7 separate regions of the Homo sapiens genome follow, and all the other regions are linked to region 7. Evidence: promoter capture Hi-C in 16 types of primary human blood cells and fetal thymus (Javierre and others, 2016). All regions are on one chromosome and are shown on one strand. Each heading gives the region's core, a stretch centred on a gene start or on the middle of the fragment in contact. The rest is flanking DNA. Distances are from core to core; before and after follow the strand shown.

The links. Contacts are between HindIII fragments. The CHiCAGO score rates a contact against its expected background, and 5 or more counts as called.
Region 1: a fragment that was not itself captured here is called in contact with the fragment with the promoter of EAPP in region 7 in 1 of 17 cell types (monocytes); the score reaches 5.4 in monocytes.
Region 2: a contact is called between a fragment that was not itself captured here and the fragment with the promoter of EAPP in region 7, in 1 of 17 cell types (M0 macrophages). The highest score is 5.1, in M0 macrophages.
Region 3: the fragment with the promoter of TRAPPC6B here is called in contact with the fragment with the promoter of EAPP in region 7 in 6 of 17 cell types (total B cells, non-activated CD4 T cells, fetal thymus and 3 more); the score reaches 17.7 in total B cells.
Region 4: the fragment with the promoter of STRN3 here is called in contact with the fragment with the promoter of EAPP in region 7 in 1 of 17 cell types (M0 macrophages); the score reaches 6.1 in M0 macrophages.
Region 5: a contact is called between a fragment that was not itself captured here and the fragment with the promoter of EAPP in region 7, in 1 of 17 cell types (M0 macrophages). The highest score is 7.0, in M0 macrophages.
Region 6: a contact is called between a fragment that was not itself captured here and the fragment with the promoter of EAPP in region 7, in 1 of 17 cell types (erythroblasts). The highest score is 5.4, in erythroblasts.

Annotation. Positions count from the first base shown.
Region 1 is chr14:31,107,588-31,111,815 of GRCh38, reverse strand. It overlaps HECTD1 (HECT domain E3 ubiquitin protein ligase 1), which reads left to right. Exons shown (of 43, transcript NM_015382.4): 36 at 2,218-2,419; 37 at 4,112-4,228. It also overlaps the pseudogene RPL21P5. Among named protein-coding and RNA genes, the nearest start is that of STRN3, 83 kb to the right of the region's middle. The HindIII fragment of the contact is 6,849 bases long and covers 1-4,228 here.
Region 2 is chr14:30,986,588-30,990,635 of GRCh38, reverse strand. All of the region lies in intron 1 of STRN3 (striatin 3), which reads left to right. Among named protein-coding and RNA genes, the nearest start is that of MIR624, 26 kb to the left of the region's middle. The HindIII fragment of the contact is 382 bases long and covers 1,892-2,273 here.
Region 3 is chr14:39,167,450-39,171,780 of GRCh38, reverse strand. It overlaps TRAPPC6B (trafficking protein particle complex subunit 6B), which reads left to right and starts at 1,448. Exons shown (of 6, transcript NM_001079537.2): 1 at 1,448-1,766. The coding sequence starts at 1,686. RefSeq lists enhancers at 221-810, 1,592-1,641, 1,401-1,990. The HindIII fragment of the contact is 6,900 bases long and covers 1-1,667 here.
Region 4 is chr14:31,023,870-31,027,739 of GRCh38, reverse strand. STRN3 (striatin 3) reads left to right here and starts at 1,361. Exons shown (of 18, transcript NM_001083893.2): 1 at 1,361-1,836. The coding sequence starts at 1,555. AP4S1 (adaptor related protein complex 4 subunit sigma 1) reads right to left here and starts at 2,091. Exons shown (of 6, transcript NM_001128126.3): 1 at 1,953-2,091. RefSeq lists enhancers at 863-1,022, 2,133-2,242, 2,313-2,412 and silencers at 1,153-1,472, 1,563-1,822, 1,962-2,143. The HindIII fragment of the contact is 12,759 bases long and covers 1-2,026 here.
Region 5 is chr14:30,900,213-30,904,300 of GRCh38, reverse strand. It overlaps STRN3 (striatin 3), which reads left to right. Exons shown (of 18, transcript NM_001083893.2): 16 at 1,658-1,765. Among named protein-coding and RNA genes, the nearest start is that of COCH-AS1, 12 kb to the right of the region's middle. The HindIII fragment of the contact is 3,836 bases long and covers 1-3,397 here.
Region 6 is chr14:31,055,900-31,060,215 of GRCh38, reverse strand. All of the region lies in intron 1 of AP4S1 (adaptor related protein complex 4 subunit sigma 1), which reads right to left. Among named protein-coding and RNA genes, the nearest start is that of STRN3, 32 kb to the right of the region's middle. The HindIII fragment of the contact is 1,364 bases long and covers 1,760-3,123 here.
Region 7 is chr14:34,537,094-34,541,346 of GRCh38, reverse strand. It overlaps EAPP (E2F associated phosphoprotein), which reads left to right and starts at 1,646. Exons shown (of 6, transcript NM_018453.4): 1 at 1,646-1,792. The coding sequence starts at 1,719. LOC105370447 (a long non-coding RNA gene) reads right to left here and starts at 1,598. Exons shown (of 2, transcript XR_943739.1): 1 at 1,563-1,598; 2 at 1-1,161. LOC112268123 (a long non-coding RNA gene) reads left to right here. Exons shown (of 2, transcript XR_002957583.1): 2 at 1-113. RefSeq lists silencers at 1,469-1,568, 3,510-3,804 and enhancers at 1,709-1,868, 1,519-2,443. The HindIII fragment of the contact is 15,759 bases long and covers 1-2,598 here.

The DNA of each region.
Region 1 (4,228 bases), core at 186-2,685, 3.4 Mb after region 7:
CAAACAAGGGCAAGATTCTTACCAAGAGAATTAATGTGCATATTGAGCACATTAAGCACTCTAAGAGCCGAGATAGCTTCCTGAAACACATGAAGGAAAATGATCAGAAAAAGAAGGAAGCCAAAGAGAAAGGTACCTGCATTTAGCTGAAGTGCCAGCCTGTTCCACCCAGAGAAGCGCGCTGTGTGAAAACCAAGGGAAAGAAGTCTGAGCTGCTGGAACCTCTTCTCTGTGAATTCATGCATAATAGTGTTTAAAAAAAATAGCCAGGCGCGGTGGCTCACACCTGTAATCCCAGCACTTTGGGAGGCCGAGGCGGGCAGATCATGAGGTTAGGAGATCGAGACCATCCTGGCTAACGTGGTGAAACCCCATCTCTACTAAAAATACAAAAAGTTAGCTGTGTGTGGTGGTGGGCACCTGTAGTCTCAGCTACTTGGGAGGCTGAGGCAGGAGAATGGCGTGAACCTGGGAAGTGGAGCTTGCAGTGAGTAGAGATTGTGCCACTGCACTCCAGCCTGGGCGACAGAGCGAGACTCCATCTCAAAAAAATAAAAAATAAAGATAAAAATAAAAGACCTCTGGACTGTAAAAATGTTTCTCTTCCTTGAGTAGAAGTGTGGTGTCCTCTCCCCCAAAGAAATACTTCAGGCAAATTTTAATTTTGTCCTAAGCCTAATTGTGTAATGTCTTTACTATTCAAATTTAATGTATTTCTTGCTGAAAGATGTGAGATGGCTTATTGTGCAACAAATTACTCAATTGGTTAGAAAATGGTCAGATATTATTTACGAAATATTTGTACTACTTTGAAGATAGTCCCTCTAATCATGGAAGAAGTAATTTACCAAAAAAAAAAAAGCATTTAAAAAGTTTCTGTTTTCAGGCTGGGCACGGTGGCCCATGCCTATAATTCCAGCACTTTGGGAGGCCAAGGCAGACACATCACTCGAGGCCAGGAGTTCGAGACCAGCCTGGCCAATGTGGCAAAACCCCATCTCTACAAAAAAACACAAAAATTAGCTGGGCGTAATTCCAGCTTTTTAGGAGGCTGAGGCATAAGAATTTGCTTGAACCCGGGAGGCAGAGGTTGCAGTGAGCTGAGATTGCACCACTGCACTCCAGCCTGGGCAACAGAGCAAGACTCATTGTAGGTGCTCAATAAATATTTTGTTGAATGATTGTTTACCTTAAGTACTCTTCCAAAATAGTTGTAAAAAAAAAGTTATAATTTAAACTGTTTGTTTTCTTCCCTGATAGTTACATTTTTGTACCATTTAATGCCATTTACAAAGCATTTATATACATAGAACTATAGGCATGTTGTGATAACTGGCATTGATTATAATTTGTTTTATAAATGAGGAAATTGATTCTGCACGTACTTAGCTGATTTGCCTAAGATCATGAGAAAATAGTAGCACACATGAGAGTAGAACCTTCAGCTTCTTATTCCTAATTGTCGGTTCTTCCTCCCACCATAAATGGATTGTTATTAAAAAAAAGAAAATGTGGCCGGGTGTGGCGGCTCATGCCTGTAATCATAGCACTTTGGGAGGCTGAGGCGGGTGGATCAGTTAAGGCCAGAAATTCAAGACCAGCCTGGGCAACATGGCAGAACCCCCATCTCTACTAAAAATACAAAAATTAGCTGGGCGTGGTGGCACACACCTGTAATCCCAGCTACTGGGGAGGCTGAGGCAGGAGAATCACTTGAACCCGGGATAGGGAGGTTGCAGTGGGCCGAGATAATGCCACTGTACTCCAGCCTGGGTGACAGAACAAGACTCCATCTCAAAAAAAAAAAAGAAAAATTGTTTTAAAATTATAATTACCGTTTTGATGGCGGCTTTCAGTTTGAAAGATAGCTTAATCATTTCTAAATTTCTCTGATAGGAAACATTTTTCCTTTTTTTGAATGATGTTGGGGCTTGGACAACAGATTATTATTTTTATTGAACTGCTAAAATAAGGAGGCAAAATATAGACCCAGTACTTTCTCAGTTTGCTTAAGGCAGATTATAATAAAAGGAGTTTCATATATTTTTACTTGTGACAGGAAGCAGTTTATGTAACAAAAAAAGATTACTGTGTTTTAAAAATCACCTGATAAAATACTATTTTTTAATTTCTTAAATCTTTGAATTCTGTTGCTGGTTTAGTAGTACATTCAGCTGTTAACGTATGCTGCAGCTCATAGATATTTTTCTATTTCAGAGCAATAGTATGGTTACAGAACCGACGTGAAGCCACTGTGGAGCGAACGAGAACCACAAGCAGTGTTAGGCGAGATGACCCTGGAGAGTTTCGAGTTGGTCGTCTCAAGCATGAAAGAGTAAAAGTTCCACGTGGCGAGTCACTGATGGAATGGGCTGAGAATGTCATGCAAATACATGCAGATCGGAAATCAGTTCTTGAGGTAATCTCATATAAAATTAGATTTAGGGAACAGGAATGACACTTAGGGAACCAGCCCAATGTGTATCTTCACTGCATTAAAAACTGTGGTAGGTAAACATGAAGAGGGGTTTTCCTGTTCTGTAGGCAGAAGCCTTCTCCTCTGGCAGAGCATCTTTTTCATAAGAGGATGTCAGTCCACCTCCTTAGGGGTTAGGTCTTGTGCCATTAATGAGCAACAAAGAAGATCTCCACTCTTGAGGTGGCAAAGTGCTTGTTCTGCTTGAGGGCTTCTACCCATTTCATAACAAAGTTGGACTAAAATAGTAGTACTCACAAGGGATTCTTTTTTACTTTTACATTAAACTGTGCTGTTTGATATTTTGGGAGCACCTGGTTTTGTAATATTGTTTCACTTGAATTGTGCTTGGTATTATATCACTGGTCTGTGTTGAGACATGTTATAGCAAATGGTAGTATGACATTTAATATATTTAGTTTAGAAATGTTACTGTGGACATTGTTGGTTTTATTTCATATACACAGTATTCCCTATATGAGGAAGAGTGGAAATACGTCTCCTGTCACAGGGGTGAATCCAACTGGTTTGTTTTTAACTTTTGGATCATAAACTAATTGCAAGAAATATGATACATCTCTAGAAGATGTCCAAGGCTTTACATCTTTCACTTTATATACAGACTTTCATTGTATTCCTCCTACCCTTATGTTCTTCTTCTTCTTTTTTTTTTTTTTTAATAGAGACAAGTTCTCACTATGTTTCCCAGGCTGGTCTCAAACTCCTGGGCTCAAGTGATCCACCCGTTTCGGCCTCCCAAAGTGCTGGGATTACAGGCTTGAGCCACCATGCCCAGTTGTTTACATTCTTCTAATATAGATAATCTTTTTTTTTAACCATATGCTGTAGTTTTTATTATACTTTATGCAATCACTTTAAGGGTTTTTGTCCATACTCTTCCTGTTGCAAAAATGATTTAAAGTGTCTTTAACTCAGAAATAAGCAGAAGAGGCGAGGCGCAGTGGCTCATGCCTGTAATCCCAGCACTTTGGGAGGCTGAGGTGGGTGGATCACCTGAGGTCAAGAGTTTGAGACCAGCCGGACCAACATAGTAAAACCCTGTCTCTACTGAAAATACAGAATTAGCCAGGCATGGTGGTGCATGCCGTAATCCCACCTACTTGGGAGGCCGAGGCAGGAAAATCGCCTGAACCCGGGAGGCAGAGGTTGCAGTGAGCTGAGATCGTGCCACTGCACTCCATCCTGGGCGACAAGAGTGAAACTGTCTCAAAAAATAAAAATTAAAAAGTGGAAGAGTCTAGGCTTTGGTGTCACACAGAGACACACAAAAGTCTGTTCACCATCATTTCTTCAAGCAAATGATTTAACCTCCTTATCTGAGATTTGGTTTCCTTTGGTGTAAAAAGGAAATAATTATTTTGCAGGGTTGTTGTGAGAAGTAAATGTATGAATGATGCTTGGCACAGTGCTTAAGCATGTAATAGTGTACAACAAGTGGACTCTTTAGGAAAATTAAAATAACACTTCTGTGCTGTTTATTATATATATACACTGCTATTTTGAAAAAAGGTACATTACTGGATCAGATATGATAAATTTTGACAAGAATTAGATTATTTTTAAAAACACCCCAAACTTTACGTTTAACCCACAATTTATTTGTTCATATTTTAGGTTGAATTTTTAGGAGAAGAAGGAACTGGCTTGGGACCCACATTAGAGTTTTATGCTCTGGTGGCAGCAGAATTCCAGAGAACTGACTTGGGAGCTTGGCTTTGTGATGATAATTTT
Region 2 (4,048 bases), core at 833-3,332, 3.6 Mb after region 7:
TAACAGATGAAATCTGTGCTGTGTCAGCTTTAGGGAGACAAGTCATGGTCACATTTTTTGGCACTCATATACACCCTAAATTCTGTGGTCTTCATTATAAGTTAAGGAACCTGTCTCCCCTTTTGCATATCAAGTACATGCCATCTCTTAAAAGTCATAGTGCCCTTTGGCCGGGCGCGGTGGCTCAGGCCTGTAATCCCAGCACTTTGGGAGTCTGAGGCGGGCGGATCATGAGATCAGGAGATCGAGACCATCCTGGCTAATACGGTGAAACCCCGTCTCTACTAAAAATGCAAAAAAAAATTAGCCGGGTGTGCTGGTGGCGGGCACCTATAGTCCCAGCTACTTGGGAGGCTGAGGCAGGAGAATGGCATGAACCCGAGAGGCAGAGCTTGCAGTGAGCCGAGATTGCGCCACTGTACTCCAGCCTGGGTAACAGAGTGATACTCCATCTCAAAAAAAAAAAAAAGTCATAGTGCCCTCAGAAGACTGCTAGAACACTCTTGCCACTCTGGTTTACTGTTACTTCTCTTTAACTCCTTGAGTCATTAGGCCCAGGGATTTTTTCAGGAAATGTGTATAGGAGTCCCTCTTTCCTGAGTTTATAGCCTCTTGTTCTGTCCCATTCCACATTTCTGAATTGAAATGACACACATGCTCTTAAAGTATCTGAGCCTTCCATTTTTTTGATTTAGTCTTCATTGTCACCATTGTGAGTCTTTCAATAACTGATGACAGACAATTCATATTAATCATCCCATTTCATAGATATGGAAACTGAGGTAATTAATTTGCCCAGGGTCACATGAGTTAGTATGTGTTAGGGTTGGAATTATGCATTGGAATCTCCTACCGTCTGGCTATAAATCCTGTGTTTTGTCCGGGCGCGGTGGCTCACGCCTGTAATCCCAGCACTTTGGGAGGCTGAGGCGGATGGATCACGAGGTCAGGAGATAGAGACCATCCTGGCTAACACAGTGAAACCCCATCTCTAAAAATACAAAAAAATTAGCCAGGCGAGGTGGCGGGCACCTGTAGTCCCAGCTACTCGGGAGGCTGAGGCAGGAGAATGGCGTGAATCTGGGAGGTGGAGCTTGCAGTGAGTTGAGATTGCGCCACTGCACTCCAGCCTGGGCGACAGAGCCAGACTCCATCTCAAAATAAATAAATAAATAAAAATCCTGTGTTTAAATGACTGTTTTGTTGCTGCTGTCTCGCTACCTCCCAATCTACTACCTTTGGAGAAATAGTCACTATATCATTGGGCTGCCATGAAGAGGAAGGCTTTTGAAGTCAGGCCTAGGTATATAACAGCAAGCCATCTCTTCCAGGTATGGGTGCCATTGCTGTGAAGATAGAGGAAGTTCACGGTGAAGAAGGTAGTCAGAATCTGTTTGTGGCAGGGTCCAGGCTGGGCAGGTTACTAGAACAGGGGTCTTTAAGTGATTGCTTAGTGGGCCAAAGAATAAGGTAACTGACCCCTCTCTTTATCTTGAACTTGACCAGACTACTTTCTGTGGATGATTCAAATTCCTTTTCATATGAGTCTTTTTATTTTTGAAGGTTAAGAATCTACCTGGGGTAGTGAAGGCATTGGACCCTGGGAAGCCAGTAGACTTGAGATCTACTGTCCTGATTCTTCTATCTTACTAGCCAAGACAGTGTCCGTGAGCAAGACACTTTACTTCCAGAGGGGGTGGCTTAGTTGCCTAATTTGTAAAATAATTATAATTCATTATTGGAAGTGGAGATTATAGAGCTGGAATATTCACTTCCTGTGGTATAAATAGTGTGAACAAAAGTTGGATGGCTGTAAAGTGCAAGGTCTTTTTTGAGGAATGTTGCATGTTTCACTTGTGGTAGAGTACAGAGGAATGATGAAAAATAAGCTTGAAAATGTAGGATAATGGTAGAATGGAGAGAACCTTGAAAATAGCCTGTTAGGACAGTAGATGAGTCATTCAAAACTTTGTCAGAGAAAAGTGAGAGGACCTGCTTTATAATTGTACCATGACTTCATTTTCTTTATTAATTATTCTCTTTCTCTTTTTAAATGTTCAGATTTTAAGGAATAAATTTGCATTCCAACCAAGTTTTGCTGTTTCATCTCCATTCATTGATATGCTTTAATTTTGTTGTAGTTGGGCTCAGCAGATTTCTACTTTGTATTGTATATGTTCGTTGAGTAAATATATTTGGTAAAATTAAGAAAGGTAAATAACAAATAAAAATAGGTTGTGGTGCTAGCAGAAAGGGGCATAAAGAGATAAGCTTAGAAAAGTTAATACCTGGAACAGCTTTTTGTTTATTAATTTTAGTTTGAGTATAAGGGTCAGAGTTTGGTTGATAATACCTTTTAGGATTTGCTTATGAGGCCAAAGTGCTGCTCGTGTCACAGGACCTAGCTGAGCATCTTGGACATTGTTTTTTAATATGTCAAATCAGTGTTAGTCTTGTTCAGTATAATAAACATTTATTGAATGTTTGGAATAATGGAAGACTTGGCTTCTGTTCAGGGCTCACAGTCCAGTGAAGGAATGTAAAACTTGCTTTAATATACAAGACATTTGGAAGAAAGCACTGCAAGAAGTGAGAAAAACAGCTGGACGCGGTGGCTTACGCCTGTAGTCCCAGCACGTTGGGAGGCCTAGGCGGGCGATTCACAAGGTCAGGAGTTCAAGACCAGCCTGACCAACATGGTGAAACCCCGTCTCTACTAAAAATACAAAAATTAGCTGGGCATGGTGGCACACACCTGTAATCCCAGCTACTTGGGAGGCTGAGGCAGGAGAATTGCTTGAACCCGGGAGGCAGAGGTTGCAGTACCAAGACCGCGCGCCACTGCACTCCAGCCTGGGCAACAGAACGAGAGTCTGTCTCAAAAAAAAAAAAAATTATATTCAACTGATTGAATGTAAGAAAATATTGTGGGCAGAATCACAGCGAGTAGTCAGAATAATCTTTCTGGAATGCAAATATTGATTATTTTATTGTTTTACTTTTTAAGCTACCATGGCTCCTCCAAATTTCTAATATGAACCTCAAGGTCCTACATGGCCTGGTTGTGACGTATTTCTCTAGCCTCAGCTTAAATTTTATTTTATGTTTTTTTTTATTTTTTATTTTTTTGAGATGGAGTCTCGCTCTGTCACCCAGGCTGAAGTGCAGTGGCGCGATCTCAGCTCACTGCAAGCTCTGCCTCCTGGGTTCACGCCATTCTCCTGCCTCAGCCTCCTGAGTAGCTGGGACTACAGGCGCCTGCCACCACGCCCAGCTAATTTTTTGTATTTTTAGTAGAGATGGGGTTTCACCATGTTAGCCAGGATAGTCTCGATCTCCTGACCCTGTGATCCGCCTGCCTCGGCCTCCCAAAGTGCTGGGATTACAGGCGTGAGCCACTGCGCCTGGCCCTTAAATTGTATTTTATATTTTCTTTTTCCGGCTGCCATGCCTCTACGTTACTCTTGCCCTTTCTTTGGAGTTTTACTGTTCTTTATATCCTCAGAGTCTATCACAGTGTACAGCCTGTACTAGTAAGTGTGTTTAAAGGACTGTATGCCTTCTTGTACCATAAAGAGGGTAAGTTTATGCAAACACTGAAATTAAGAAACAAAATTTTGTTGGTAATTAGAGCTTGAGTATTTTTTTTGATTATCCTTCCATACAGTGAAATAAATGGAGATACCAAAATATAAAAAAATGAACTTTTTGCTTTGTGGATTTGAGAAAGACTATAAAGAGTAAATTAAATATGTAGTATGTGTGAGAGATGAAATTCACCATTGATTTTTCTTTCCTTCCTTTAACAGTTTCATTACTGAAAAAAATAGTTGATATCTTCTGTTTAAGAGTGGCACTACATTACACTAAAGTAGGTGTGAGCCAAAATGAATTGTACTTTTTTCTATTTATTTCCAAGACTTGGGGAAACATTAACTTATTCAATAAGTATTAGCTGGCACCTGCATTATGCAGGATGGAAAATGTAATTTGCATGATGCTAGGGTAGCACTATAGTAGGATAAAATGATGTGGCCTGTGTTTTCAA
Region 3 (4,331 bases), core at 199-2,698, 4.6 Mb before region 7:
CCTGTGAAAGGGCATGAAGAGTTTGTGTGTGTGTTTCGTTTTTTGAGACGAAGTCTTGCTCTGTCGCCCAGGCTGGAGTGCAGTGGCACAATTTCTGCTCGCTGCAACCTCTGCCTCCCAGGTTCAAGTGATTCTCCTGCCTCAGCCCCCCGAGTAGCTGGGATTACAGGCACCTGTCACCACGCCCGGCTAATTTTTGTATTTTTAGTGGAGACGGGTTTTCACCATGTTGGCCAGGCTGCTCTCAAAACTCATGACCTCGTGATCCCCCCCACCCCCCGTGCCTCGGCCTCCCAAAGTGCTGGATTTTACAGGCATGAGCCACCTTGCGGTATGTTAATTTGGGGGAAAACAACAGGGACAATTGGGGAAAAATTTTGTTTTGTGAATTACCAATGGAAGAACTAATCACAGGCTAAGCAACATGCTTACGGTTGAATTTGCCAAATTTAAGATGTACATACTATGATGTAGCATGTGTATTTATTTGCACATGCAGTGGGACAATTCCTACAGTTGTCTCACACTGCTGTAGATTATTAGCAACTCCATCCTGCAGTGACATCGCTTTTCTGAATTCTATAGCACTTTTCACCTAATCCTCTGATTAGTCTGTATTTTCCGGTTCAAGTGTATCTTGTTTTTCGTTTGCTCCACTTCCCTTGTCCCTTGCACCCCACTAACAGGAAAATTCCTGGTGGTCAAAATGGCTCTAATTCTTTTTGTATACCCGGGCTTAATTCAATAGGAATTGGGATAACTTTTCAATATTTAAAAAATTTGCACTGTGAAAACGTATATTTTAAACTCTTTCTACAACTTTTCATATTTGAAGAACATATGGCAGGAAGTGGATGCTTTTGATGAAGCCAAAAGAATTTTTTTAACTTCTATTGCTAATTAACAAGGAGGTGGCCGCGGGAGCTCTTTTTTTTTTTTTTTTTTTGAGACGGAGTTTCACTCTTGTTGCCCAGGCTGGAGTGCAGTGGCGCGATCTCAGCTCACCGCAACCTCCGCCTCCCGAGTTCAAGCGATTCTCCTGCCTCAGACTCCCGAGTAGCTGGGATTACAGGCATGCACCACCAGGCCCCGCTAATTTTGTACTTATAGTAGAGACGGGGTTTCTCAGGCTGGTTCGAACTTCCGACCTCATGTGATCCACCCGCCTCCGCCACCCAAAGTGCTGGGATTACAGGCGTGAGCCACCGCGCCCGGGCCAGGCGGGAGCTTTAGGTCTTATTTTATCTTGCTCTGCCCCCGACATCGTGGTGAGAGGGGAACCTTCCTCATATCTGGGCGCTGGCCTCTCCGGGCTTGGGAGAGAGGAACTCAGTGATCATAGAGCTGGCCGAATGCCGGGGTAGAGGGGACCGGAAGTTGTTTTTTTCGCCCCCGCCCAGCGGCCGGATCGCATCTCAGCTGGTTGGCTTTGGTTAGAGCTCCCGTCAGACTTTAGTTCGGCCCTAGGATTTGGTAGCCCCGAAGTGTGGGCTCTCTCCAGTACCAGACTCATTTCAGTACCAGCCTTTGGGAAGTCGTGTGAATACCTCGGTCTCTTAGCCACAGGGATAGAATGGCGGCCTGACGGAGCCGCGGCGCCGGCGAAGTCGCTGAGGCGCGAGCTGGAACCCCCAGACCAGCTCAAACGGGAGCCAAAACTCGAAGCTTGGAAGAATTAGCAGGAAATGGCGGATGAGGCGTTGTTTTTGCTTCTCCATAACGAGATGGTGTCTGGAGTGTACAAGTCCGCGGAGCAGGGGGAGGTGGTGAGTGCTGCCACACAACCTTGAGGTCCTTTTGCGGTGACACACCTTGTTTCCCCTCAGTGCTTTCCTTCAACCCCTGTCCCATCGCCACCCGACGCCTCCCGAGGTGTACACAAAATGGTCCACCTCCAGGTGTCCTAAACCCTAGAACCTGTCAGTTGTCTCCTTTGAACCGTCATCTTTCATCGTTTTCTCTTTCGTATCTTCTTCTATTTGATTCTCTTTTGTCTATTCCCGTACGTTTGTCTTGCACGCCACAGATTTTGGTACTTTTAGTGTTGTCCCTGCCATTATTTACGAGAGGGTTAACTGCAGAGCCTACTTAGTTTTGCTGGCACTTCCAGCACTTGAGCCATGCACTGGACAGACCTGTGCCAACCTGAGAAGCCTGTCCCTCCTTCCTCATTCCTAATGCTCAGTACAACTCCACACAACTTGAGACCTGAAGCCTAATGAAGGTTGAGTTTGCAAAGGAAAGTTTGCAGGCGTTAGGATAATTAGGGAACATAATTTAAATTAATTATTTCAGAAAGTATTTATTTAGTGCCCTTATGTCAGAGCGATTTCTAGGTGCCAGGGATATAGTAGTGAATGAAACAATGGCCCCATCCTTGTAGAGATTTTTTTTTAATCTAATTTAATCCGAAATGTGATAGTATGTAGCGGTTACTTCTAATATGTGGGAGTCCTTATTCAATCATTGTGGGCCTGTCACTGCTGACACTGCTAGATAAATTAAATAAAATAATACTCCTGCCTCACAGTATTTAGGGAATAGTGATTTAATGAATAGTTAACACTGAGTATTGGCTGGTAGAATCATGGAGTTGTAACGGATTTTAGAAATACTCCAAAGTCATGCTCAAGTCAGGAGCCCTTTCTTTAATGCTATTGATAAAAAATGAGTGGAGAGTGGGGATAGGAAATGTATCCTAGGCAAAGATAAAGTGGTAGAGGTATGAAAGAGTGGTGGATTTAAATACACTTAAGCATTTCTTTGGACTAGACTGAATAGAGAGTGAGAAGAATTGAGAGGTGAAGTTAGAAAGCTTTGTGTAATTAAAGAATTCGGATCTTTTCGAGGGAATATTTTTAAGGAAGGGAATGATGTGGACCATTTGCATTTTAGAAAAGTAATCCAGTGTTTGGGCTAGAGAGGGAAGATCCTTGTAGGGGGAAAATCCTTTATTACGGGAGTCACTGCAGGAGGAGATGAAGATCTGGATTAAGACAGGGATAGTGAGAAAAGGAGATAACAGATTTGAAAGTTAGAAAGTGGAATTCTGTAGGCCTTGTTTAAGGATGGGAGTGGGAGTTGAAAATTATCGTCAGGTTTTCAGCTTGAGCAGCTGGGTTGGATGGTGGTACTATTAATCAGAAAAGGAAATAAAGGAGAAGAAAAAAATAAGGAGGTAAGATAATGAGTTATTTCGGGGCAGGTTGAACTTTTGAGGTGCCTGTATGACATCCAAAAAAAGGTACTGCCAGTTTGCACAAGAAGGATAGGCAGGATACATTTGGAAGGTTATTGGAAATGAAGCGAATTCTATTCTTATTCAAATGACCCATCTATAATAGAGATTTTTTTCAAGTCACAAACTTCTGACTTTATTATTGACCTCAAGGTTTACTGTTTGTGCAAAGCTAGCCTTCCTTTTCCCTCTAGAACAGTTAACACACCCCTTTTACTTTTTTGTCATAACCCCCGATCCCCCCAAACCACTTGCGTATTCAGTTCTCTTCATTCTCCCCTCCCTTCTTACCTTTCCTCTTCTCTCTCTCTCTTTTTTTTTTTTTTTAGATGGAGTTTTGTTCTTGTCTCCCAGGCTGGAGTGCAGTGGTGTGATCTCAGCTCACTGCAGCCTCCGCCTCTTGGGTTCAAGCGATTCTCCTGCTTCAGCCTCCTGAGTATCTGGAATTACAGGTGCCGGCCACCATGCCTGACTAATTTTTTTGTATTTTTAGTAGAGACGGAGTTTCACCCTGTTGACCAGGCTGTTCTTGAACTTCTGACCTCAGGTGATCTGCCCGCCTTGGCCTCCCAAAGTGCTGGGATTACAAGCGTAAGCCACTGCGCCTGGCCCTTTTCTGACTCTTGTCTAGAATAATATTTTTTCTTCTTTTTAAAATATCTTTTTTTTTTCCCGTGGGTTAATCCTAAATAAAATGAACAGAGCTGTTCTACTCAGGCCTGATAATTTTAAGAGATGGACTAACATACAAGAGAAAGGAAGTTCATAGTTTTGAATCATTTAAGCTAAAAATAACTTTCTTTTTCTACTGCAGTGTATTTATGATGGGGGGGAAAATTGAAAGTACATAATAAGCAAAAATTATATAAATAACAGTTATGTGGTAGTCTTCATAATCAGAACCCATACTGAAATACGGGTATATAAGGGTTCACATTAGTGTCCATACTTTGAGTGTGCTTGAAATTTTTCATCATGAAAAATGTAAAAGATACATAATCCTGTCATCCAGAGGTGATTTTTAGAGATTTTTTTCAGACATAAAAAGATCTGTAAAAACTATGTTGTTTATGTCTGAAAAGACCTATAAAAT
Region 4 (3,870 bases), core at 112-2,611, 3.5 Mb after region 7:
ACCCACTATTGTACTTAAAATATTAGCCTTGTCTCTTATGTATATGTTACATTCCTCAAACTTTTTAAATTTTTTGCCGACACGGAGTCTCGCTTTGTCGCCCAGGCTGGAGTGCAGTGGTGCGATCTCGGCTCTCTGCAACCTCAGCCTCCTGGGCTCAAGCAATTCTCGTGCCTCAGCCTCCCCAGGAGCTGGGACTACAGGTGTGCGCCACCATGCCCGGCTAATTTTTGTATTTTTAGTAGAAATGGGGTTTCACAATGTTGGCCAAGCTGGTCTCGAACTCCTGGCCTCAAGTGATCGCCCACCTCGGCTTCCCAAAGTGCTGGGATTACAGGCTTGAGCAGCCGCGCCCGGCCATATTCACTTAAACATTTAATGACCCAGGAGAACATTCATCTAGGATTTTAAGTTGTACTCACAGTGCTTTTATTTTCTGTTTCGATCAAAATAGTCTATTGATGACAATATTTGTGAGCCCATTCATTTCTACCGTATCAAATTGTTAGTCTAGCCAGTCTCCTTCAAACTTCTCTCCCTCTACCCATCATCGTCAAGATCTAAAGGAATTCACTACCTCTTCTTCTCCCAAGAAAAAAAAAATCGCTCCTCCCCCTCTCCCAACCCCCCCACAACCCATTCCAGAAAAGGAAAGAAGAGGGGACGCAAAGTGGAATAAGTTACGACGGGCGACCGAGCGCATAGAAATGGGACCAAAGCCCAGGCTCAAGACAGAGACGAGGAATCAGTAACCACAGCCGGAGGATCTTGGCTATTTGCCAGCAGAGAACTGACTGGTTCTAAGAAACCAGAGGCAGAGCGAGTGACAGGAAGGGAAAGAGGGCCCACCCTTGGGACTGCCTGAAACACTCAAAGAATGAAAAAGAAACGTCAGGAATCCGAGACGGGATGCGGTCGGCCAGAGCGACCAGCCAGGTTAACAACCAGCTCAGAAAGCCGGGACACGGGTGAGAGACCCCTGGGAAGGAAACAGCGCCCGGGGACGGCCTGCTAAAAGGAAACTGATAACCAGGAAGCCTAAGGCCGCCTCGCTTCCAAAAGTCAGAGTCGGAGCCCAGGTGTCCGGTAGCTGCGGCCAGACACCGGATCGGGTCTGAGGGCGGGCCTAGGGGCGGAGCCCGAGCTCTTTCCCCGCCCTCTAACGGCGACCCGGGCTGCGTTCTCAGTGCGCCGGCGTAGGGTGAGGCCGGACTCTATTTGGCGATTAAGCGTGAGGCTGCGTTCGCTACCCAGCATGCTGTGCGCTAGTGACGGCCCTCCGCCTATCCCCTTCCCAACTCTCCCCCCACCCCTCCCGCCGAGGCCCCCCCTTCCCCTAAAGTGAGTGAGTGAGACGGGCAGATGGAGGAGGGATTGTAATGGCGGCAGCCGGCAGCTCCCTGCTCTGACCCACGGCAGGCACACAGCAACGACCCCTTCCCCGCCCCTCTCCCGGCCGGCCTCCGCCCCGCAGCCAGCGCGGGGCCACCCTCTCCGGCCCTTCCCCCAGCTGTCGGCGTCTCGCCCTGCGCCCCGGCCGGGGCCCCACACACAATGGACGAGCTTGCCGGAGGCGGTGGTGGCGGCCCGGGGATGGCGGCCCCTCCCCGGCAGCAGCAGGGACCTGGGGGGAACCTGGGCCTTTCGCCCGGGGGGAACGGAGCGGCGGGCGGCGGGGGTCCTCCGGCCTCCGAGGGAGCGGGTCCCGCGGCAGGCCCCGAGCTGTCCCGGCCGCAGCAGTACACTATCCCGGGGATACTGCACTACATCCAGCACGAGTGGGCTCGGTTCGAGATGGAGCGGGCGCACTGGGAGGTGGAACGGGCCGAACTGCAGGTACCTCGTTGGGGTCGGTGTGCGGGAGCTGCGGCGGCTGGGTTCCCGGCCGGGGGGTGGGGCTGGGGACTCCACTCAGCCGGAGCCGGCGCCTTGGGAGGCCGAGCGGAACCTACCTGTGCTGCTCAGGTTGTGATGGTCCTCTCAACGGCTTTTCCTGGAGTCCCCCTCCCTCTTTCCCGCATAAGCTTGCTCCCCAACCTTCACTGGCTACGCGGTGCGGGCCTCCTCGGGGCAGCCATTTTGGCTTTTAGTATGGCGTCTGCGGGGGCTCCTCCGGAGGCGGCCTTCCCGGGCCTCCGGGGCTTGGGACCGAGCACCTCTCTGTGGGAGAGTCCGGTTTGGGGCCTCTCAACACTGAGTTTGCTCTTGTTTGTTCCTCTTGAGATGAAGAGCCCGAAGAGAGGGACTAGGATAGGCATCTTACCCCCCTTTTCCGGACCACCCCCCTTTCCGATTTGGCGTATCTGGCCCCCTCCCTCAGACTTGGTACGCGCTTGCCCCTTGACAGCCACGCTTCTTTCCTGGGCTGCTAGGGTGCACAGTGACTTGGGACTGACCTGTGAAGTTTTATTTCCCATCGTCAACTTTAAGTACTTTCTCACCTGAGATGCTGCCTTACTCACTTGGATTCTCTGTAGTTATTCCTTACTTAGTGACTCATCAACGCTTTCAGCACTGAATTTTTCTTTTTACAGTACTCTCCACTAGATCTCCTTTCCCCCATCCGTTTCTTTATCTATAAAAAAACCAAACCAGACGATCGATGCTGTATTTATGAAACGACTGAAGAGATTTAATATTCCCTTGAAGTGAAACGTAGTTATATCATGTTACTTACTCTTGCAGGAGAAGCAAAGTGAGATGTTCTCGGAACCCTTCATAGTTGAGCTTGACTCGATCCTCATAATGTGAACCTTTGATAGGCTGCACATTTGGAAGCTGTTGGTAGTTAACAGCTCATGTCCTGGATCTCAAAATTGCTGCATCTTTTTGAAAGGGTTATTTAACTTTCTTGGGTATTTGTGTTTATTTTTAAATACCTTTCCAGGGCAAATTTAGGCTTAGAAGGAAAAAGCGTGTGTCTAAATAGTATTGCACCTGTTCTTCAGACTGTTGTGTATTTAGGGGGTAAGCAGTATTTGCTGTCATATATGTCATATGCCTATGGTGAATCGTTAGGCAAATGTAGTGCTGAAAGGAGGAGGATTGGATTAACTAGAAAGGGTGTCCTCAAATATGCATCTCTTTAGTTTGGTTCTGAACTAGTAAACTTTTATATGACTCCACAAAGTGGGTGAAGTTAAACTTTTCAAAAGTAAAAAATACTTGGGTATTTTGACACTGTATGAAGTCTTAAAAAAAAGTAACACTTGTTAGTCATTTCAGTGCTTTACAATTGTGTTTTGATATAATATTGGGCTTTAAAATTACATAACTTTAAAAAAGCTGAAGTCAAAACTGGTTTAAGTTGTGTACAGTCTGCTTTAACATACTTAAAATTTATAGAATTCTGTTGGTATACAGCTTTCTACTACATACTGCAAACTTAATTTTCTGTGTGAGTAAAGTAAGTAAGGCATTTGTTTTTAAAATTTGGATTGACAAATGCAGTAAGGCCTAAGCTCACTAAATAATACTTCACCAGTCCCTGCTATGGTTTCTTAGACCTTTGTACTGTTGTATGCAAGTTTGGATTTCAACACTCTTCAAGTTAGCAATTGCATTTTTCACCCATAAACTTCACTAATGTAAGCAGCTGAGAAGAAAGATATCTTGTGCCCAAATTAGTAAAACCTATACTATATATTAAAGAAGCCTTTATTGCCTGCTCTAGCATTTGCTTTCCCTTCTAGGTCTCCTTAACAGCAGCAGCAGTGTTTTAAGGTAGATTCCTTTTGCTTGCTTGCTTGCTTTCAATTCTATTGGTACAGTACTGTTATTAGCCATCCTAAGTTTTTGTTTGTTTCCTTGTTTTGAAGAAGTCCTACAGTGTTTCTAGACTCTTTTTTATTTCATACTGATTCTTTTGGA
Region 5 (4,088 bases), core at 230-2,729, 3.6 Mb after region 7:
TGGGGCTCATGTTGGCTCCTGAGTCCTTTTGCCATGACTTTGGTTGTTGTTGATAGCTTCCTGATATGACATATGACAAGATCTTCTAGGTTCATGTTGTTCATTTTGTGCCCTAGATCTGAAATCAGCTATTTATCTAAGGAGTTGTGGTTTCTTTTAGTGGGAAATGGTATTTAGAGACTACAGTTGGGGTACTAGGCTGTTGAGTTGATCCTCATGGTCTTCATGGCTCCTGGGTTGTTCATTGTGTTAGGCTTTTTCAATGGACAGAGCTAAGAAATAAACATTTTTTAAAAAGTAAAATACTTCAACTTCAGATTTATCTTGGTTCTCAACAAAATTGTTTCTCATTTTATTTACCCCACAGTGTACACAGAATCGTCTCAGTAATAATACCATTACCACCAAAAGATCAAATATTGATAATAAAACTTTGTAATTAGGGTATATTCCACTAGTGATATACAATCTAATTTCTATGCTTTAAAGTCACTTGGAATAGTTCCTTCCTTTGTAGTTACACCACCAGTTGGATATACTTAAGTTCATTTGTTTAATTTTACTTTTGATTTTCATTAATTTCTTTTAGAAAAACAACTGTTGGCTGGGCGCATTGGCTCATGCCTGTAATCTCACCACTTTGGGAGGCCAATGTGGGAAGATAGCTTGAGGCTAGGAGTAGAGACCAGTCTGGGCAACATAGTGAGACCCCATCTCTACCAAAAACTTAAAAAATTAGGTGGGCATGGTGATGTGTGCCTGTAGTCCTAGCTTTGGAGACTGAAGCAGGAGAAGCCCTTGAGCTCAGGAGTTCAAGGTTACAGTGAGCTATGATTGCACCATTGCACTCCAGCCTAGGTGACAGAGTGAGTCCTTGTCTCTTAAACAAAAAAAATTGTTTTATAATTATGTAAAATATTTACATGGTGCCATGGTCAGATCTTAAACCAAAATTATCTTCTAAGTCTCTTTCCCAGTATCTCCTCAAACCTATTTTTTTAATTACTCTACATAGGTAACTATATATATATATGTATTTTTTATATGTTTAGGTGTAATATATGAGTTGCGATACATAAGCAGAATGAATGATCTAAAGTCTATTAATATTGAGGAGTTTCCCCCCATTTATTTGTTTTGATATTTCTCTGTTCTCTCTCATCTTTAATAAAAAGTTAGTAAGAGCTTACTGGTAAAGAAAAAAATCTCATCTTTAAAGATCATTAATTCCAGTTCTTTGTTTTTTTGTTTTTGTCAGTGTAGGTAGATGGGGGTTGTTCCTTACAAACATCTGACTAGCAATTGTGAATGTTTTCCTTCTTTAAATGCTTATAACTCTTATATGGACTGTGTATTAGAAGTAATAATTGTGGATCTTTTAAAAATTCTAAACTACCTATAATAAAGGGTGGCATTAAAACACTTCTCAGTTTTTCTAAATTTGAGCCTAGTACAGTCTATATTATAGGACATAATAATGTAAATGTTTATTTTTTAAAAATCTCTCTAGAGTCCTTGTTTGGTTCTCAGATTTTTTGTTTTATGCAAAAGGTTTAGTTTTTAATGATTTTTATATTTTAGCACGATTAAAAAGGCCATTATCCAACTTCTTATTAAAGGTTTGAATTTTAACTTATTGTCTTCCTTTATTTTTCAGGTTTACAATCTAATAATCATATCAACAGAGTAGTAAGTCATCCCACACTTCCTGTTACAATAACTGCTCATGAAGATAGACACATCAAATTTTTTGACAATAAAACGGGTAAGCAAATTGTCTTCTTTTCATATTAGTAATACTGTAAATTTGAGATGATCAAAAATGCTGTTTTATGTAAGATATATTGACTTTTCAGATACGAAATTGCCAAATGAAACCATTTTAACTCAGATTTTTGCTTTTCTTAATGTTGCACGCTTATGATTTGTTATTTTATCCTTAACTAGACATAATACCTTGCCTAGCTATTACGATTTCTTCAAGTCATGTTAGTTAAATGTAGATCCTTCCATTTGAAATTTTTCCCTCATATTCTGTTATGAATAAGTATGATGGAAGAGGTAGATCTCTTTCTGGTGTTTGGCATTTCCATTTTTTTTTTTTTTTTTTTTTTTTTTTTTTTTTTTTTGAGGCGGAGTTTTGCTCTTGTTGCCCAGGCTGGTGTGCAATGGTGCAATCTCAGCTCACTGCAATCTCGGCCTCTTGAGTTCAAGCGATTATCCTGCCTCAGCCTCCCGAGTCGCTGGGATTACAGGCATGCACCACCATACCTGGCTAATTTTTTTTGTATTTTTAGTAGAGACGGGGTTTCTCCATGTTGGTCAGGCTGGTCTCGAACTCCTGACCTCAGATGATCCACCTGCCTTGGCCTCCCAAAGTGCTGGGATTACAGGCATGAGCCACCGCGCCCGGTCGTCCAATATGTTCTTACAACTATGTCTCAGTGGATCAAATGACATTATAGTGCATAGTGTTTATTATCATCTTCCCTGTATTTCTTGTTGTAGGGAAATATACCAGTTGTATTGAAGTCGAATCAGATTTTAACTTAGCCATAGATGTGTGGTTGTTTTTTGTTTGTTTGTTTGTTTGTTTTGGGCCTCTTTTTTATCTAGTCATTACCTAGAATAATAGATAATAGATAGCTTGCTCTCTTTCAGGAAAGGTCTGACAGCTAGGAAGGCTACTTTGAGGAGAGGCTAAAACAGTCAGGGTACTGAAGGACTTCTAAATAAGAAATGTAAATGTTAATTGCAACATTGTTACAGGGTAACAAATTATCAAGTAAGACAGTGACCCAGAATTATAGGTTTCTCTTTGAAGATTATATAGAAAATGGCAATATGTTTTAGTCTGTAGTCTTAACAATGAGACCCTTTTGTTCAAACATTACTTTCATGGACAGATTCTTTTTAACAAATTGCAGACAAAGTGAATATTTACAGGTCTACATTGTGCACAGGACATAAGATTCAAGTGGATGTTCTTTTTAAAAAAAATATTTAAATTTTTTTTTTTTTTTATAGAGACAGGGTCTCACTGTGTTGCCCAGGCTGGTCTTAAACTCCTGGGCTCAAGTAGTCCTCCCATGTCAGCCTCCCAAAATGCTGGGATTACAGGCATGAGCCACTGCTCCTGGCCAGTGTTCCCAATTTAACACTTCATCAAATCAATCCTTTGAACTATTTTTATGAAACCGATAATGTTTTTCTCTGCTGCAAGAGCAAAGAGGTTAATTTCCTTTGTGTTTCTAAAAAGATTCCTGTTTATTAATTATTGAAGATTTACAGTTATATGGGAAAGTTCAGGAATTTTAGTAGTTATATTAAAAGCAAAAGGTGAGCATCTGAAAAGCTATTTTATTAGCAGAAATCAAGAAAGTGGTCAGTAAAAGCTTACTCAATATCAAATAAGCAGCATATAGTCTTTCAAATTGTTTCCAAATTTCACCTATTTATTATTTCTGTTAACTAGTACCTTACCTGTAGTATGAAGATAATTGAAGCAGTAGGCTCCAAATAATAGAAAAAAAAATCCTTTTTTTTTTTTTTTGAGCCAGTCTTGCTCTGTTGCCCAGAGCTATAGTGCAGTGGCACCATCTCAGCTCACTGTAACCTCCGCCTCTTGGGTTCAATTGATTCTGGTGCCTCAGCCTCCCACATAGCTGGGTGGGACTACAGGGTGGGACTACAGGTGTGTGCCACCATGTCCAGCTAATTTTTGTATTTTCACCAAGTTGGCCAGGCTGGTCTTGAACTCCTGGGCTCAAGTGATCTACCCGCCTCAGTCTCCCAAAGTTCTGGGATTACAGGCGTAAGCCACTGTGCCTGAACACACACACACACCGCCCCCCCCCGCCCCACACCCCCCGTTGAGTTACATGAAACTATGAGTTGTCTTCAGATGTATGTTTTTTTGGTGTGGTTTTTTTTTTTTTTTTGAGATGGAGTTTCATTCTTATTGCCCAGGTTGGAGTGCAGTGGCACGATCACGGCTCACTGCAACCTCTGCCTCCTGGGTTCAAGTGATTCTCCCGGCTCACCCTCCTGAGTAGCTGGGATTATAGGCGTCTGCTACCACGCCTGTC
Region 6 (4,316 bases), core at 1,192-3,691, 3.5 Mb after region 7:
GTGTTTGGTGGGAAAAAAAGGTGCATATAAATGGATCCGTGCAGTTCAAGCCTGTGTTGTTCAAGAGTCAACTGTATTATTTCCTTGCTGCAACTAGAAACAACATTATGATATAATACTTGGACTAAGTTTTATATATATAAAAATATATATACATAAATATATAAATATATATACATATATACATAAATATATATACATATATACATAAATACATATAAATATATATACATATATACATAAATACATATATATACATAAATAAATAAATATATATATATATATTTTTTTGTCCTCCCAGCTCATTTCTTGTTTCCTAAGCCCTATCAGACAGGTGGTTATCTTACAGCAATTCTACACACTAAGCTGTAAAGAGCCAGGCCCAGTGTGGCCAAGCCTGGGGTTGTTGCCTTCATTTATCTAGACCAGCTCAGCTGGGGATATAACAGCTGTGCCATGGGGGAGGCCTGTGGCCATTCACTCCCTTTTCCAGGAAGATAAGCTCATGGCTGTGGGTGGGATTGCAACATACTCTGTGGTGTTTAATCATTTGGTATTAACTGCTGCTTTTATTTGCCTCACAAATTATTGTCAGTAAATTACGGCAGGTTACCAGGAAGCTAAGATTACCATCCTTTCTTTTACTCCATTTCAGCAAAGTTATTTAAAAACCATCTTTATGATAGTTAGAAATTATAATTCTATACCTTGGATTTCAACTGCCAGGTAAAAGGAAAAAAATGTCTCAAAGGTACTCATGGCCAAACCTTTGCCTTTAAATGTCCTGCTTGCATTAAGTGGTAAAATGAGATGTAAAAAGATCTCACTGAGGTGTTACAACAAGGGATCAAATTGGTTTCTACCTTACAAGCACAGCATTCCTTCCCACTGACTTCAAGAACAAGGATGACAAATAAGGACATGTTGAATTGATATTCATTAGGATGTTAAGTTTTGAAAAGAGTAAATGAAGGCTTCTAAAGACTTGCATATATCTTTCTTTTCTTGCATGCTCTTAAACATTAGACAATTTTAACTGTAGCATGATGCAGTGGTAAAAAACTAGAGAAACACAACTGTAAACTATTTTTACTATAGAATATACAATGCCAAAATAAACAATGTGGAGACTCAAGAGACAAGTACACATCTGAGAACTGAAGATGAATGCTGTAAGCACCTATCATGGTTATTAATCATCAAGGAGGAGGGAGATGAAATAATTATGAAACTGAGGTAGGACAGTAAGAAGGGAATATGCTTAGACAAGTGTTGGGAGTGGTCAGGGAGCAGGTATGAACTTCCTGTTTTAAACTATTTGCATTTAACGACACACAAGGGGCCAGGTGTGGTGGCTCACACCTATAATTGTAGCACTTTGAGAGGCCATGGTGGGAGGATAGCTTGAGCCCAGAAGTTGGGGACCAGCCTGGGAAATACAGTGAGACGCCATGTCTACTAAAAAAAAAGGAAAAAAAAAAAAAGCCAGGCATCGCGGTGTGTACCTATAGTCCCAGCTACTTAGGAAGCTGAGGTGGGAGGACTGCTTGTGCCCAGGAATTGGAGGCAGTGGTGAGCTATGATCACAACACTGCACTCCTACTCTGGCCTGGGCAACAGAGCAAGATCCTATCTCTAAACACACACACACACACACACACACACACACACACACACACACACACACATACACACACAGAGATGGGGAAGATGTTTTGATGACCAGGAAGGAAGTCAGTAGATGCTACAGGCAAAAGCTTGTGTGAATGTGTGTATATACATCAAGGAAGAAGAAAGAAGGCAACTTCACTGGGGAAAGCATTACACAAATGGTGCTAGGATGCCCTAGCAAGGGAATCTAGAAAACCCCGAGAGGAAAAGAAGGTTAAGGTTACTTAGAGCAGGAATCAAACAAGCATTTTCCTTGGATTAGCATGAACATGCTTTTAAGACTAGTGAGACTGGTAGATTCAGAGTAGAATACGGGGCCAGGCGAGGTGGTTCATGCCTGTAATCCCAGCACTTTGCGAGGCCAAGGTGGGCGGATCACCTGAGGCCAGGAGTTGAAGACCAGCTTAGGCAATATAGGAGACCATGCCTCTACAACAAAAAACAAACAAGCGAAAAAACAAGAGCTGGGTGTGGTGGTTCATGTCTGTAATCCCAGCTACTTGGGAGAGTAAGGCTGAGATCAGGAATTCTAGGCTACAGTGAGCTATGATCACTCCACTGCACTCCAGCCTGGGTGACAGATGGAGACCCTATCTCTAAAAAAAAAAAAAACAACTGGCTGGGTGCAGTTGCTCACGCCTGTAATCCCAGTACTTTGGGAGGCCGAGGCAGGTGGATCACTTGAGGTCAGGAATTCGAGACCAGCCTGGCTAACATTGTGAATCCCCTTCTCTACTAAAAATACAAAAAAATTAGCCAGGCGTGTTGTCGGGTGCCTGTAATCATAGCTACTTGAGAGGCTAAGGCAGGAGAATCACTTGAACCCAGGAGGCGGAGGTTGCAGTAAGCCGAGACTGCACCACTGTACTCTAGCCTGGGTGACAGAGCAAGACTTCGTCTCCAAAAAATAAATAAATAAAATAAAAATAAAATAAACCAAAACAACATAAAAGTAGAATATGCTCAGATCCATGTCCCAGCAACCACATGATGTAAACTTAATGCCCAGAGAAAAGAGAGATTGAAGAGGCTGAACGAAGTACACATTGAATTGAGCAGGTATTATATTTCTGATGGCGTATTTCTGGGAGTTAGACCTAGGAGAGTCTTTACAGATTGTCATATCCAAAGATGGCAAATGGGTTTCAACTTGGGTGTCAACTGTGACTAACTGTTAATAGCTGCTTTGGGAAGGATTCTGGAGCTGCTTCCAGGTTCAAAACAAAAGGATGGCATGTCAGTTGTAGGTTAGGAAGCAGGGAGTGGCAACATATGCACCTTATATTTGTCATCCCTGAGGTGTATTCCCTTCATTTTGTAGATGGGAAAACTGATCAGAGATGTAGAGTGAAGTCCTGAATTCTGCTCCCCTGACTCATACTACAATGCTGTCTTTAATCTATCACATTGCCTCACTCTACATATCAGTGTCATTAAATGTTCACTTAAGCTTTTTTTTGTTCTGTTTTTTGAGACAGGGTCTTACTCTGTCACCGAGGCTGGAGTGTAGTGGCACAATCACAGCTCACTGCAACTTTGACCTCCCAGGCTCAAGCAATCCTCCCACCTCAGCCCCCCAAGTAGCTGGGACTACAGGTGCACACCACCATGCCCAGCTAACTTTTGTATATTTTGTAAAGGCGGGGTTTCCAGTTGCCCAGTCTAGTCTTGAACTCCTGGACTTAAGTGATTCACACGCCTCAGCTTCACTAAGTGCTAGGATTATAGACGTGACATTGTGCCCAGCCAAATGTTCACTTGAGCTTAATGAGCATTAACTTCAGGTAGCTTTGGAAGTGATCCAGTCATTATTCTCTTTTCTAACACCGCTGCACAATTAATCTGGAAAATGCCAAACGAATCACTGCATGAAAAAGTACAGTATAGGCTGGGCACGGTGGCTCACGCCTGTAATCCCAGCACTTTGGAAGGCCAAGGCGGGCGGATAACCTGAGGTCAGGAGTTCGAGACCAGTGTGGCCAACATGGCGAAACCCCATCTCTACTAAAAGTACAAAGATTAGCTGGGTGTGGTGGCGGACACCTGTAATCCTAGCTACTTAGGAGGCTGAGGCAGGAGAATCGCCCGAACCCAGGAGGCGGAGGTTGCAGTGAGCTGAGATCGCGCCACTGCACTCCAGCCTGGGCGACAAGAGTGAGACTCCATCTCAAAAAAAAAAGAAAGAAAAGAAAAAAAACAAGTATGGTATGTAGCCAGGTACATGCATCCATAGTATTAGCTACTTGGAAGATTGGTTGAGCCCAAGAGTTTGAGGCTGCTGTACACTATGATCATGCCTGTGAATAGCCACTGCATTCCAGCCTGGGCAACAGAGCAAGACCTCGTCTCTAAAGAGAAAACAAAAAGTAGAGTATGTAGATTTAGAAATGAAAATGATAAGGCCGGGCACAGTGGCTCATGCCTGTAATCCTAGCACTTTGGGAGGCCGAGGCGGGCAGATCACTTGAGGTCAGGAGTTCAAAACCAGCCTGGCCAACATGGTGAAACTTCATCTCTACTAAAAATAAAAAAAATTAGCCTGGCATGGTGGTGGGCGCCTGTAATCCCAGCTACTTGGGAGGTTGAGGCAGGGGAATCGCTTGAACCCAGGAGGCTGAGGTTGCAGTGAGTCGAGATCATGCCAC
Region 7 (4,253 bases), core at 397-2,896:
GGAATCATCACGACTGGGGATTAGACCAAGAACGGGCGCTCAGGAGGGTTCAGGAAAATGTAAACAAACTAGGAACCCATCCAAGGGGTGACAGGCCCAAATGCCTACGGTCTCCAAATGGTAGAAAAATTAGAAAAAGATAGTGGAAAAATCCAACCACGCAACCTTAACTTTAAACTAGGAATGACAATAATGTGTCTAATGTTCATTCACACTAGAAAGGCCGATAATGTTTGTAATATAACTACTGGCGATAGTATCCTATTTGTATGCCAACTTTCATCTCAAGTATTCTGCTTTTCTTTCCCCACAGACAAACAAGTGTTGTTCTTTACAGCAGACCTCTTTCCCTCTACATACCAATCTATCCACTCGCATAACTACTAAGTGGCTCAATGGCCTATGTCTCATGCTTAATTGGCTGAGCTAGGCGCGGAATCCGGGAAACCACAACAGACTGTACTCTGCTCCTGTATTTCAGGAATAACTGTCACTAACCTGCTTCTGTCCGATTCCACCTTCTATGAAGTACACACAGAGGAGCAGTTCATTCTTTTGTAAAGGGATTGGTGGACTTTGTTCGAGATGCCATTTCAAAAGAAATGAGAAAAAAGAAAAACTAAGACCTGCACTGTAAAGCATAATACAGGAGTAGATTTATTACAGCTACTCCACATTTTAGAGAGTGCCACAGTGTCTCGGTAGGAGGCAGGAACCCGAGTTCCTGGTTCAGAAACAGGGTTAGAAACAGTCTCCCGATGGAGCTCAAGTGGCTGTCATCTGCCTGTTCTCCTCAGGTATCGAGTGGGATCAGTTGAGGGCTGAGCAAAAGTGGGGACTGGGAAGATGACGAGAAAAGATAACTTTTCGTAGATTGTTGAGGCCGCAGTCAGACTGAGGAGTGAACAGTGTGAAGGAGAGGTTGAGAGCCTCATGGTGTGGAAGGCATAAGGGTTAGAGGCGAGGTTGGAGGGATGTGGGTGCTGGTGTCTGAGGACTTATTGGATTTCGGGCTGTGTGTCCCTCAGCGTCTAGATTCCTGCTTCGTAGGTGATGAGACGCTGCATGTAGCATGTTCACCTCAGAGACTGTCACTTATGAGGGTGCCCATCATTATTATTTTTGGTGACAAGGTAGCTGCTATTTTCCTGTAAGCAGAAGCTGCGGAAGAAAATGGTGGGATTGGCCGGGAGCGGTGGCTCACGCCTGTAATCCCAGCATTTTGGAAGGTCGAGGTGGGCGGATCACCTGAGGTCCGGAGTTCGAGACCAGCCTCAACATGGAGAAACCCCCGTCTCTACTAAAAATACAAAATTAGCCGGGCGTGGTGGTGTATGCCTGTAATCCCAGCTACTCGGGAGGCTGCGGTAGGAGAATTGCTTGAACCTGGGAGGCGGAGGTTGCGGTGAGCCGAGATCGCGCCATTGCACTCCAGCCTGGGCAACAAGAGCGAAACTCCGTCTCCAAAAAACAAAACAAAACAAAAATGGTGGGATTAAGACCCGCCCCCGTCCCGTCCCCGCCCCTTTTCGCTCCTGCTCCGCCCCTTCCCCGCCTTCTACCTGCCTCCCTCGGTGCTGTCGGTCTGCGCGGGCGCGCAAGGGGGACTGGGACGTTCAGGCGGAAGTGGCGTCAGGGGCGCTTTAGGGACTGGACTTGCAGTGTAAACAGAGACGCTGCAAATTGCTTGTGGACGGTGTAGGCCGCTGCAGGCCACCATGAACCGGCTTCCGGATGACTACGACCCCTACGCGGTTGAAGAGCCTAGCGACGAGGAGCCGGCTTTGAGCAGGTGGGCTCCCGCCCCACCCTGGCCCCCGAGGATTTGGGTCGAGGCCTGGCTTTGGTCGCCTCCATTCGTTGCGCCTGCCGAGCCTACGCAGACCCTAGCGGCTCGGGAGCCTGTCGTGCCTGTTACTTGTGCGAAGCCAAAGGGCTTTCCTGATGGGGTCGCGCAGTCCCGGGGGGAGGCGGTGCCGATGTCGCCTGTAGGAAGAGGGATATTCCGGAATCACGGGGGACCGCGTGTAAATCTTCAAAAGCAATGAGATCGAAACCTGTCTCTACACCTTAGTAGCAGAGTGACGGAAGGCAAGTCAGTTATCCTCGATTACTCACCTGTAAAATTGAACTATAATAACATAATTGTATAACCTATATAACATAGTATAACACACTATGTTTGTTGTGAGGCTCACAGGACTTAATGTGAAGTGTCCATCTTGAAGACTAAACTGCCATAAACAGAAATAAGGGAATATTGAACAGCCTTTTTTATTTTTATTTTTTGACAGGGACTGTTGTATGCTCGCTCTGAGCTACAGAGATAAATCATAAGGTCCTTGTCTTCCAGAGGCTTATAGTATAATAAGGGTAATAAGATAAAGTATATATTTCTTGGCAGAGCATTGTAGAGAATATTGACCTGAGATAGGCACAGAAGAAGGTTCGTGGGATTTCCAGAAGGGTGGGCTTTATTCTACCAGGGAAACTTGAAGCTGTTTTGCCGAGATATTTCCACACAAATTTAGTTATTTCTTAAGCTGTCAGCAGATCCTATTCTTAAACTTTAAAACATTCATTCTGCCTAAAGAAGCTTTCTGTAAAGCCATGCTTTCATTAACAACTTTGGCTGGGTGTGGTGGCCCATGCCTGTAATCCCAGGACTTTGGGAGTCTGAGGCGAGAGAATCTCTTAAGCCTGGTAGTAAAGGAACAGCCTGGGCAACATAGTGAGACCTCATTTCTTAAAAAAAAAAAAAATCAAAAGAACAATGTTTCCTCATATTGTCATGGGGAGACATTGGATGCATGGGAAATCAGACTGCTGTTAAGATTTCTTTTGTTGGGAGTGAGGATAGATACCAGGATTCCCTGTGAAAAAGAGTTTCAGTTAATGGGTCCTGTCTGTGAAAGGAGGTATGTATATATGTATGTCTCAATTATTTATTTATTTATTTATTTATTTTGAGACAGAGTCTCACTCTGTCAGCCAGGCTGGAGTGCACTGGTGCAATCTTGGCTCACTGTAGCCTCCACCTCCTGGGTTCCAGCAATTCTCCTGCCTCAGCCTCCTGGGTAGCTGGGATTACAGGCATGCGCTACCACACCTGGCTTATTTTTTGTATTTTTCGTAGAGATGGGTTTTCACCACGTTGGCCAGGCTGGTCTTGAACTCCTGACCTTAGGCAATCTGCCTGCGTCGGGCTCCCAAAGTGCTAGGATTACAGGCCTGAGCCACGGAGCCAGGACTGTTGTATCATTTTTTTAAGGAAGCTTTATAATTCTGTGACAGTTGCCACTGGTAAGGTAACTGTAAAGATAAATATTATAAAAACAAAACAATGTTATCAGACAGTATTGCCTGTTGTAGGCTCTGAGCCAAATGGTTATTATTTTAAAAAGGGAGATTAGTGTTAGAGAGGTGTCTGTCAGTATTTAATTTTACACTGTTTATAAACTAATACATTGTAGCCTGTTAACTGTTTCACGGTAGCTGACCGAAGACATGAGACTCCTGGGTCAAAGATAAGACTACACATAGCACAGCAAGCAGCATGAGCATCATGTTTGTGTGGCTTGCTCTTGCTTGTCAACCCTACAGGTATTACGCTGAGGGTCCTAGAAGAATGCTGCACATTCAGTGGGTTGGCATCGTGGCTAAAGACTACTTGAGCTTGGAGAATCCACCTCTTTCATAGAAGACAGTAAATACATCTGCTCTTTGTCCTGGAAGGAGACATTATCTCATTCCTCAAGGTTGTTGTTCGCTGCAAACACAATCCTGAGAAATGGCTGGAGTGAACAGTGGTCAGAACCTTGCATTCTTGGCATACTTAACTTGCATATCTAGGGTCCATGATGTATGACTGCCTTTCTCAGCAGTGCTGAAAACTGAGACTTTGGTTGAGATAATGACAAGGATTGAAGAAAATTTGTAGAAAAAATAGCTCTCACTTTGTGATTCAGTTTTTAAAAATTAAACATTTTATTTTGAAGTTTTCGTAGATTCACATTCAGTTATAAGAAATAATACAGGTCTGGTGCAGTGGCTCACATCTGTAATCCCAGCACTTTGGAAGGCCAAGGCAGGAGAATCACTTGAGCTCAAGAGTTCAAGACCAGCCTGAGCAACATGATGAAATCATGTCTTTACTGAAAATACAAAAAATTAGCTGGTATGGTGGTGCATATCTGTGGTCCCAGCTACTCAGGAGGGTGAGGCGGTTGGTTGGCTTGAGCCTGGGAGGCGGA